3 separate regions of the Homo sapiens genome follow, and all the other regions are linked to region 3. The links are contacts of gene promoters, found by promoter capture Hi-C in human tissues and cell types (Jung and others, 2019). All regions are on one chromosome and are shown on one strand. The core of a region is centred on a gene start or on the middle of the fragment in contact, and the rest is flanking DNA. Distances in the headings are between cores, read along the strand shown.

Region 1 (2,975 bases), core at 183-2,682, 410 kb after region 3:
GCTGCTGCCCAAACGCCAAATGGAAGCCCCTGGTGGCTCCACGAATGCATGTCACAACCTCAGAGCAGGGGCCGAGGCTGTTGCTCAAGACCCCAGCTTCCTGCAGAGAGTGGGACTGGCAGGACAGTGTCCAGGGGCACAGGGGAGGAGCCCCGGATCTGCGCAACGGGCTGGGGCTGTGTGACCTGAGCAAGGACCCCTCCTCTTAGCCTCGGTTCTCTGGTCTGCACAGCTGCGGCCTGACAGAGGCCCCAGGTGCTGCCTGTGGCTCCTCCCAACCCCGAGACCTTCCCACCAAAAACACACTCAGGAGAACGCTTTGCCCAGAAGGTGCCTGGGCTGCAGGTGGCCGTTGAGGGCCCCCCTTCCTGAGCGTCTGGCCCCCAGCCCCGACACACAGATCTCTGTCCCAGCAAGCCTGGTCCCAGTCATTTAGCCAAAGAGCGTTTGCTGAGTGAATAAACAATGGAGCAGGTCCAGGCTCGGGCCAAGATTCAGCAACGGGCAGGGCCAGCTGCCCAGCTACACACGCCAAGACCCTCCTGGGGAGAGACAGCCTAGTCCTCAACCCCTGCCACCTCCTGCTGCTCCCAGAGATGGGGGCTGTTCTCCATCTCGGGCCCTATCACCCGGGGCCTCAGAGGCCCGGCTGGCAGCAGCACCTGGGGTCTGGGGGCTTCCTGCCCTGCACTGGCCGCTCCCCCACAGTGGCCCTGGCCACATCCCCCCAGGGGCCTGAACAGGCTGGGGGAGGGTCAGTGCCCATACGAGGGCTATCCAGGGACCCCATCTGGTGGCCAGGCCCCTGGGCAGTGAGAGCCTCGGAGGGCCCAAAGAGGCAGCTCTGCTGGCCTTTCCCAGGGACACAGAGGGGGACTGGACTGAAGCCAGGGCCCAGGAGCCGCCCTGAGTCACGTCTGACTCAGCCGGCGGGCGGGGGATGCCATGGCTCTGGCCCAGCTGCATTCGGTGTCCGGGCACACTGAGGCCACTGAGGACAGCCTCGGGGGGCTGCACGGTGGGCTGTGCCTGCCCAGTCCCACGCCTCGGCTCCCCATCCCCCAGCCGCCCGGGCCTCAGTTTCCCCGCCCGTGTCAGCGCGCAGCCGAACAGCAGAAGAATCAAAGGGCGCCAGGCAGGACTTACATGAGGTCGGGCCGGTGGCGGTGCAGGATGGCGCAGAAAGCCAGGCCGTCGCGGAACGACGTGGTCATGTTGCAGATATTCACGTCGCGGTAGCCCTCGCACTGCTGCCGGCACCACTGTTGCAGCGCCCTGATGGCCGCCATGTGGGCGGCGCGCCCGCCGCGCGGCGGAACCGCCCTCCGACACCTTCCCGCGGCTGTGCCGCGACCGCCCGGCCGGCGGGACAGACGCTGGGACCGCTACGGAACCGCCAGACCCACGGCGCCCAGCCCCAGCTGAGCCGGACTGAGGGCGACGAGTGCCGGGTCCCTAAGAGAAGCCGAGCCCGGCCCCGCCCCCGCCGGCCCCGCCTCCTTGTAGGCCCCGCCCCCAGCCGCCAAGTCCTGCCTCCGGATAGGCCCCGTCCTCACACCTCCCAGCCCCGGCATAGGCTCCCGCCCAGGCAGGCCCCACCTCCCGACAGGCCCCGCCCCCAGCCGCCGGGTCCTGCCTCCTGATAGGCCCCGTTCCCACGCCTCCTGGCCCCGGCACAGGCTCCCGCTCCAGGCAGGCCCCGACTCCGGACAGGCCCCGCCCCCAGCCTCCAGGTTTTGCCTCCCGAGAGGCCCCGCCCCACGCCGCCCGGCCCCAGTACGGGCTCGCGCCCTAGGCACGTCCCGCCTCCTGGTAAGTCCCGCCCCCACGCTGTCAGGTCCCGCCCGACAGGCCCCGCCCCACGCCGCCTGGCCCCTCCCCAGGCCCCGCCCCGCCGCTGAGGGCCGAGACCCCCAACCGGTGAAGGGGCGCGGTCTGCTTGGGGGTCCTGCCATTCTGGACCCCTGCGGAGACCTGGAATTTTCTTTTTCGCCGCCCCACCTCCCACCACCATCTCACCCCACCGCCATGGAGAAGAGGCAGGAAAGGCCGTTGACAAACGGGGACACTGAGGCTCGAACACCCTGCCCTGTCTAGGGCCTCAGCCCTCGGCAGCCCGGCCTCCCGGGGAGCAGGAGGCGCCTTGTGTTTCAGGGTTTCAAAGGACGTCCGCATCTGGTTTCTCTTTCCAGGCCGCTACATGCCAGCGGGGGTTCCAGGCAAGGCAGAGGTGAGGCCTGGGCATTGCCAGAGGAGAAACTGAGGCCAGGAAGGGGGCCGTGGAGCCGGAGTTGCACAGCTGGCCTGTGCTTTTCTTCTGGGGGCCTGTGGGCAGGATCTGTTCCTGGGGCAGGAGATTCCTCAGGCTGACTTGCAGGGTAGTTCCAATTTTCCACTTTGAGCTGTGACAGAAGAAATAAGGAAAGTCCCTCTGCTGGGGCCCTAAATTATCCCAGACTGGCCCCTGGCCCCGTTATCCTTGGGGAACCTTGTCTGTGGCCACGGGGGCTGGACGAGGGCGGAATCACTGACACCAGCCATGTGAGGGGGGCCTACCCTCCTGGCTGTGGGGCCAGGGCTTGTCTGGGCAGGGCCTGCAGGAAGGAAGGTGTTTTCCCGCAGTAGCCCCTGGCAGGGAGTCAGGGCAGCTTCTCTGTGCCCCTTGGGAGGAGGAGAAACTGAGGTCTTCCAACCCCAGCCAATGGTGCTGTTCCAGATCTTTTCTGAGGCTGGTCCCTGGTGAGACACCGTAGTGTTCATGGCCAGCTGCCTAAGTGTCAGTGAGGCCTGTGTGTAGGTGGTGAGCTCCCCGTCACCAGGGGCATGCAAGCAGCTGCTAGGCAGGGAGCCCTTGTGGCCTGGGAATGTGGCTGGCCCTAACCGCTGCTCCGCCACAGTCCCTGACCTGCGGATGTCAGGGGATATCGTGCCAGCACAGCCGGAGCCGGTCCTGGCACCGGGTTTTCTTGACTCCC
Region 2 (3,107 bases), core at 361-2,860, 380 kb after region 3:
CTGCAGTGGTCAGATAAGAAGCAGAACTTTCTGAGCCTGCTGGAAGCAGAATGGATGAGCCCACATTGCAGAGAATGACAGGGAAACTGTGGGAGTAACAGAGAGGGAGAGAAAAGGGGGAGTGGGGAGAGGAAGAGAGAGGGGGGAGAGAGAGAAACAGACTGAGAGAGAGGGAGAGAGAGACAGAGAGGGAGAGAGGGAGAGGGAGAGAGAGACAGAGAGAGGGGGAGAGGGAGAGACAGACAGGGAGAGACAGAGACAGAGAGATGGAGGGAGAGACAGGGAGGGAGCGACAGAGGGACGGAGAGATGGAGGGAGAGAGAGACAGAGAGGGAGAGACAGAGACAGAGACACAGAGGGAGAGACAGAGAGAGGGACGGAGAGACAGAGACAGAGTCAGAGACAGAAGGGGAGGGAGAGACAGAGACAGAGAGGGAGGGAGAGACAGAGACAGAGGCAGAGACAGAAAGGGAGGGAAAGACAGAGAGGGAGGGAGAGAGGGAGACAGAGAGAGGGAGGGAGAGAGGGAGACAGATGGAGGGAGAGACAGAGAGGGAGGGAGAGAGGGAGACAGACAGAGGGAGGGAGAGACAGAGACAGAGAGGGAGGGAGAGACAGACTGAGCTGGGAGTGAGGGGGAAGAGGCGGCAGGAGCAGCACGTGGAGAAGCTGTCAAGCTCACCTTCCCCAGCCCCATCCCGCCCACCCTCCTGGGGACTGGTTGACTCAAGGTCAGAAGAAGGGGCTACGCCTGGGGAGGCGTGTCATTGTCACTGTTGTCCTCACTTCCATGGAAAACGGGGTCTTGCAAAGGTCCCACAACAGGGAGGTGGCCCCAGACCCAGTGCAGGCCTGGGGAGGGCCATGGCGCAGGAGGCTGGCCCAGTGGCTCTGCCCTGGTCGGGGATGGGATGGCAACTCTGCTTCCTGGGCCTCAGCATCCCCACTGACTTCAAGAGAGTGGACGGGGCTGGACAACCCCCAGGCCCCAGCGCAGACGGTGTGGGGAATTGAAGGACATCCCGTCGGCGTGACATCAATGGAAACCAATAGGGTGTTGACTTGGCTCTCAGGAAATTCAAGTCAAAGAGGCTTACACGACCCTGGATTCATTATCCTTCCCAACAAGAAATCTACACATAAGAAGGTTCTAGACTGGCTAATTCAGGGCTCAGTGACACCAACAGGAGGTCAGCAAAGACCCAGCAGCCTTCCCTGTTTCTGCCCAGCTCGTCTCTGCTTGGCGGCCTTACCATCCCTCATGGTCCCAAACTGGCTGCTGTGGCACCGTGAGTCCTGTGTACCACCACAGCACCCCAAATACCAGATGGCATCCAGCAAAGTTGGGGGCTGTGTCTGCCACATAATCATACTATGTTCTTAATGGGAGGTTTCCAGCGGACTTAGAATCCCAAGACTTTCTTCTGCTGAACCCTTGATTTTCTTTCCTCTGCTGGTACCAGCTGTAGCTTGGACCACAACAACTGCCTTTCTCACCACAGCAAAGCACTGCCTCATGGAACCCTTAATCAGTAGATTCTGACTTCAGAAAGAAGGGTTCCCTTAGCAAATCCCTAATTCCTGCCTTGAGCTTTCAGATTGGCTACCTTCAACCTAAACTCAACCCTCTCTCTTTTTTTTTGAGATGGAGTCTCACTGTGTCGCCCAGGCTGGAGTGCAGTGGCACGATCGTGACTGACTGCAGCCTCAAACTCCCAGGCTCTAGCAATCCTCCCCCCTCAGCTTCCTGAGTAGCTGAGACTACAAGTGCATGCCACCATGCCTGGCTAATTTTATTTTATTTTATTTATTTTATTTTTTTTTTTTTTTGACACAGAGTCTTGTTCTGTCACCCAGGCTGGAGTGCAGTGGCCTGATCTCGGCTCACTGCCATTTCCGCCTCCCGGGTTCAAGCGATTTTCCCAGCTCGGTCTCCAAATAGCTGGGATTACAGGTGTGTGCCAGCATGCTTCGCTAATTTTTGTATTGGTAGTTGAGACAGGGTTTCTCCATGTTGGTCGCAAACTCTCGACCTCAGGTGATCCACCTGCCTCGGCCTCCCAAAGTGCTGAGATTACAGGCGTGAGCCACCACACTTGGCCTAATTTTTAAAAATTTTTGTAGAAATGGGGTCTCACTATGTTGCCCAGACTCATCTCAAACTCCTGGGCTCAAGCGATCCTCCTACCTTGGCCTCCCAGAGTGCTGGAATGGCAGGCATGAGCTTCCGCACCTGGCCTCCTGCCCACATCTTGATCTCAGACTCTGGCCTCTAGAAGTCTAACTGTTCCTTGAAGCCCCCCATTTTCGGTACTTTGTCACTGCAGCCAGACATCACTCATGCATCCCCAATATCCATTCCCCACCTCCCCTTTTAGCGGCCACAGCAAGCCCCAGAGGGAACTACATTCCCCAGCATCCCTTGCAGCCTGCCCTGGCCATGTGACTATATTCTGGCCAATGAGGATAGAGCAGGCCACACCTGGTGGGCCCTGGATGTCAGCGAGGGGGTTATATGTCCTTGGTTTCTGCCCCCTGGACCTCACACCCACAGCCAGAGCTGGCGTCGAAGACCACCCTGGTCCCATGTCTCTCCACCTAACGCCCTCCGGGCCCCACCCCACCATCCTGCCCCTCTGACCTCTCCCAGCCTTTCCACTCGGACGGAGTCCATGCCTGGCCAGAACTTGCAACTCTCCCTGGCCTCAGGGCCCCTGCCTGGCTCAGCCGCAGCCCTCCCACCAGGCTGCCTCTCCCTCCCCTCAGCACCCTCCCCAGGGCCCCACGTCCCTGCAGAGCCCCGGCCCCCAGGACTGCCATTCTCTTTATGCCTCCACCAGGTCCTCGAGGACAGGAGCTGGTGGGTCTCTTGCTGGTGTGGGGCTGTGGTACCAGCGGGTGGCCTGGCATGGAGGAGATGCTCAATTAAAAGAACGGAACAAAGGGTCCGGATGTGGTGGCTCACACCTGTAATGCCAGCACTTAGGGAAGCTGAGGCCAGTGGATCACCTGAGGTCAGGAGTTCGAGACCAGCCTGACCAACATGGCAAAACCCCATCTCTACTAAAAATACAAAAATTAGTTGGGCATGGTGGTGCACGCCTGTA
Region 3 (3,324 bases), core at 675-3,174:
TCTGCAGATAAGGCGGTCTGCAGTGACCTGAAAGCTCAGTGGCTCAGAGGAAGCTAACCTCTAGCATTCCCCAGCCACAGAGCACCCCTGTGGGTAGGACCCACAGAGCCTGGCATTACAGGGACCAGACAGCACGGTGCATACTCTGACCAGGGATTCTGAGGTCTTGGGCCATTTATACCATGGAGATAACGAAGCTTACTCTTAGGCGGGCTGCTAGGAGGGCCCAAAGTCCCAAACCCTGATCTAAAAAGCCAGAATACCCCTGGGTTCAAATCCTGGCTCCACGGCCTGCAGTGTGACCTGGGCTAAGTTGCTTAAGTTTTCACAATTAAATTTAAAATGCATGGCCGGGCACAGTGGCTCACACCTGTAATCCCAGCACTTTGGGAAGCCCAGGCAGGCGGATCACTTGAGGTCAGGAGTTCGAGACCAGCCGGACCAACATGGTGAAACCCCATCTCTACTACAAAAAAAAAAAAAAAAATTAGCTGGGCATGGTGGCACGCACCTGTAATCCCAGCTACTCAGGAGGCTGAGGCTGCAGTAAGCCAAGATCGTGTCATTGCACTCCAGCCTGGGCAACATGACAGAAACTCTGTCTTTAAAAAAAAAAAATATTAAAATGCACATGGTGACCTATCTCATTGACGCTAAGGCGTACTCTCACTTTATCATCTCTAATGTGAGGCTGCGCCTTAAAATCAGCAGTATGTCGGAATGCAGTGGGCAGAGGGCCTTCTTTTTAGTAATCCATAAAGTAATGGCATAGCTAACACTAATCAATCGTGTCTTAGGTTTGATGAAATACGGACGTATCTACCTCAAAACAATGGTTGAGGCTCAGAACAGAACCTGACACAGAATACGCCCTCAGGTATCGGTGTTGGCTGCTTGTGACTGACTTTGGCAAGTAAGATCAGTACCCGGCACCTCTGGGCACACAGGGCCCGGGCTGCATCCACTGTGCCAGGGACCTGGTGCCGGGCTGGGCAGCAAGTCAGTATCACATCAGCAGGCGTGGGCCGTGGTGAGCCTCTCCCTGCCCTCCCGCTGGAATAGAAAGCTGATCCCGACGTCCCACTCCGACCCACGGTCAGGAAGCCGTCCTGTCCAGGAAGGTGGCTGAGGTACATCCCTGAACACAGTAGGCCACAGCATCATGCAGCGGAGGGCCAGTGGCCGCTATTCTTCCTGCTGGTGTTCCACTCGGCCCGCAGCTCACAGCAAGTCTATGCGGAACTGTGCAACCCACATGCTTTGATTTTCAGAAATGTTCTTAGATCCTGAACCAGAATGTGCTGCAGGGGGGACTGTTTCACCTCAAAAATTACAGCAAAGTAAATGTCCTTGTTTCAACTTTTCCAATGTTTAACTTGTAACAATAGCTACAAAAGTAATCAGGCAGCAATGTGTTTCTTTAAACGGCTTTCCTGTGAGTGTTCCGTTTACAAAGAAAATCCTAAAACCAGGAAGTAATTGGTGACTTTGGAAACAGCAAGCAAACTTCGGTGAAGAAAGAGGGGCAGGTGTACCTGGAAGGACTAACTTGCAGCCACTCATTTCCTTTGGAGGGCGGTGGGGCCTGCACCCTGCAGATTAGGGTATATTCTGACTCAGCAAAATAGGCACCAGCGCCTGTAAAAAGAAACCGCGCTGGGCACTAAGAGAATTCTCAAAAACTCCCAGAGCCCTGGGTGTGTGTCCTCCCACAGGGAATCTCGCACGAGTTCGTCAAATGGCTGGTCTCAGGTTACACAACCAGCACTGCCTCCACCGCCACCGCCCCCCAACCTCACTGGTCCGAGCGGTTCCCCGCGGTCTAGCCGCGAGGGCGGGGCCGGGGGGCGGAGGCCAGGGCGGGACCAAGGCTGGGGGCGGGGCCAGGCATGGCTGCCGCTCGCCGGCCGGGGGCGGGGCCGACGGTCACGTGTGTACACAGGGCCCGGGCGGCGTGCGCGCCGTGAGCCCCGCCGCCTCCGCCAGCCCGAGCTGCCCGCCCGGCGGCGACTGCGCCGGCCGCCGCCCAGCAAGCCGGTGAGTGGGGCCCGGGAGCCTGGGTCGGGTCGGTGGGGCACACCCCAGTCTCCGCCTGGGGAGGGAGCCAGCCCCAAGCTGCTGTGGCTCCCACGGCGGGCGCTGCGCTTACTGGGACCCGGGTCCTCTGGCCGCTGCCCACTGCGGGGCTCCGTGCCCTTGCCAGGAGGGGACCGCTGTCCTCCGGCCGCGCTCCGAGCTGAGCCCCGGGGGCGGGCTTTCGGTCATTAACCTGGTGATGGCAGCTGAATCTGCTGCTGGCGTAGGCGGCACAGCGCCGCCACCGGCTCTCCCATGTCCGACAGGGCACCACTGATCCTGCTCTCCTGGGCCACTATGGTGACTGCTTTCGGCCCCTTCTGTGATTAGTATTTTAAAGTGAGTTTTGGATCTGTGTCTACATGGAGGTGTCGGATCTGCTGTCAGTTGTCTTGGACAGTTGGCAGGGCATGGGACGGCTCTTTCAAAGCTTCACTGGAAGGCAGTGCTCTCCAGCCGCCAAACCACCACTACCAGCAGCAGAAAACCCACTATTAAGTTAGTATTACAAACCTGGCAAGTCAGTTCTCTAAATTAGGCATAAGTCTATGAATCTTGATGTGACTGGTCACAGTGGCTTATCTCTGCATGCATGCTACGTGGTGGACCAGAGGATAATTCTGTATTCGTCGTCCACAGCCTTTGATCTCTTCCCTGCCCATGAAGATGTACTTGAGTCCTCCATTCCACTTTAAATAGCCAGCTCCTGTCCACACGGAACAGCACGACATCTTTTATCTTTTGCTACCTGCAGCACCTAGCAGAGGCCAGCATTCAATAACAGAGGGCCAAGAGGCTTGCTTTAAAGGCCTCTGCAAACTTGTATGAGTAAAATGGTTCTGACCATGTTCCCAGGCTCCTCACGCATAGTGGTGATGAGATAGTCTACCGTCCTAACTGGGGCACCGTTGAGAGTGAACGGAGGCACTGTTAATAATTAGACGAAGTGCACACTCACAGTACCCATGACCTGCTGTGCAGCTCCTTCAAGAACTACTGTAAGGCCTGGCTCCCCAACCAGAACCCCTGTTGTCTTCCTCAATGAAGAAGGCCTCTGAAGACAAGTGACTTAAGAACATAGTTTATATGTATTGAATACTGTTGTGCCTTTTCACAGAGAAGAGGTCGGGGCCAGAGCAGCTCACTGCCCGACGCCACACACATCCGTGCTGGCGTCCACGTGTCATCCTGCCTCTCTAGCCAGCATGGACATATCCTGAGGATGGAGGACAGAGGAACACAGATTTA

The links. Contacts are between HindIII fragments. The study calls those that stand out against the background at their distance.
Region 1: the fragment with the promoter of MICALL2 here is called in contact with the fragment with the promoter of GPR146 in region 3 in 2 of the 25 tissues and cell types used here (heart left ventricle and stomach).
Region 2: a contact is called between a fragment that was not itself captured here and the fragment with the promoter of GPR146 in region 3, in 2 of the 25 tissues and cell types used here (lymphoblastoid cells and mesenchymal stem cells).

The regions. Positions count from the first base shown.
Region 1 is chr7:1,458,038-1,461,012 of GRCh38, forward strand. It overlaps MICALL2 (MICAL like 2), which reads right to left and starts at 1,433. Exons shown (of 17, transcript NM_182924.4): 1 at 1,147-1,433. The coding sequence starts at 1,289. It overlaps MICALL2-DT (MICALL2 divergent transcript), which reads left to right and starts at 1,882. Exons shown (of 2, transcript XR_001745046.2): 1 at 1,882-2,230. RefSeq lists enhancers at 1-109, 110-832, 2,256-2,807, 2,808-2,975, 2,896-2,975 and a silencer at 1,206-1,925. The HindIII fragment of the contact is 47,250 bases long and covers 1-2,975 here.
Region 2 is chr7:1,423,335-1,426,441 of GRCh38, forward strand. No RefSeq gene overlaps it. Among named protein-coding and RNA genes, the nearest start is that of MICALL2, 35 kb to the right of the region's middle. RefSeq lists a silencer at 1-73. The HindIII fragment of the contact is 5,123 bases long and covers 1-3,107 here.
Region 3 is chr7:1,042,622-1,045,945 of GRCh38, forward strand. GPR146 (G protein-coupled receptor 146) reads left to right here and starts at 1,925. Exons shown (of 2, transcript NM_001303473.2): 1 at 1,925-2,037. The region is part of intron 2 of CHLSN (cholesin); the gene reads right to left. RefSeq lists an enhancer at 1,044-1,599 and silencers at 1,705-2,194, 2,375-2,424. The HindIII fragment of the contact is 12,061 bases long and covers 1-3,324 here.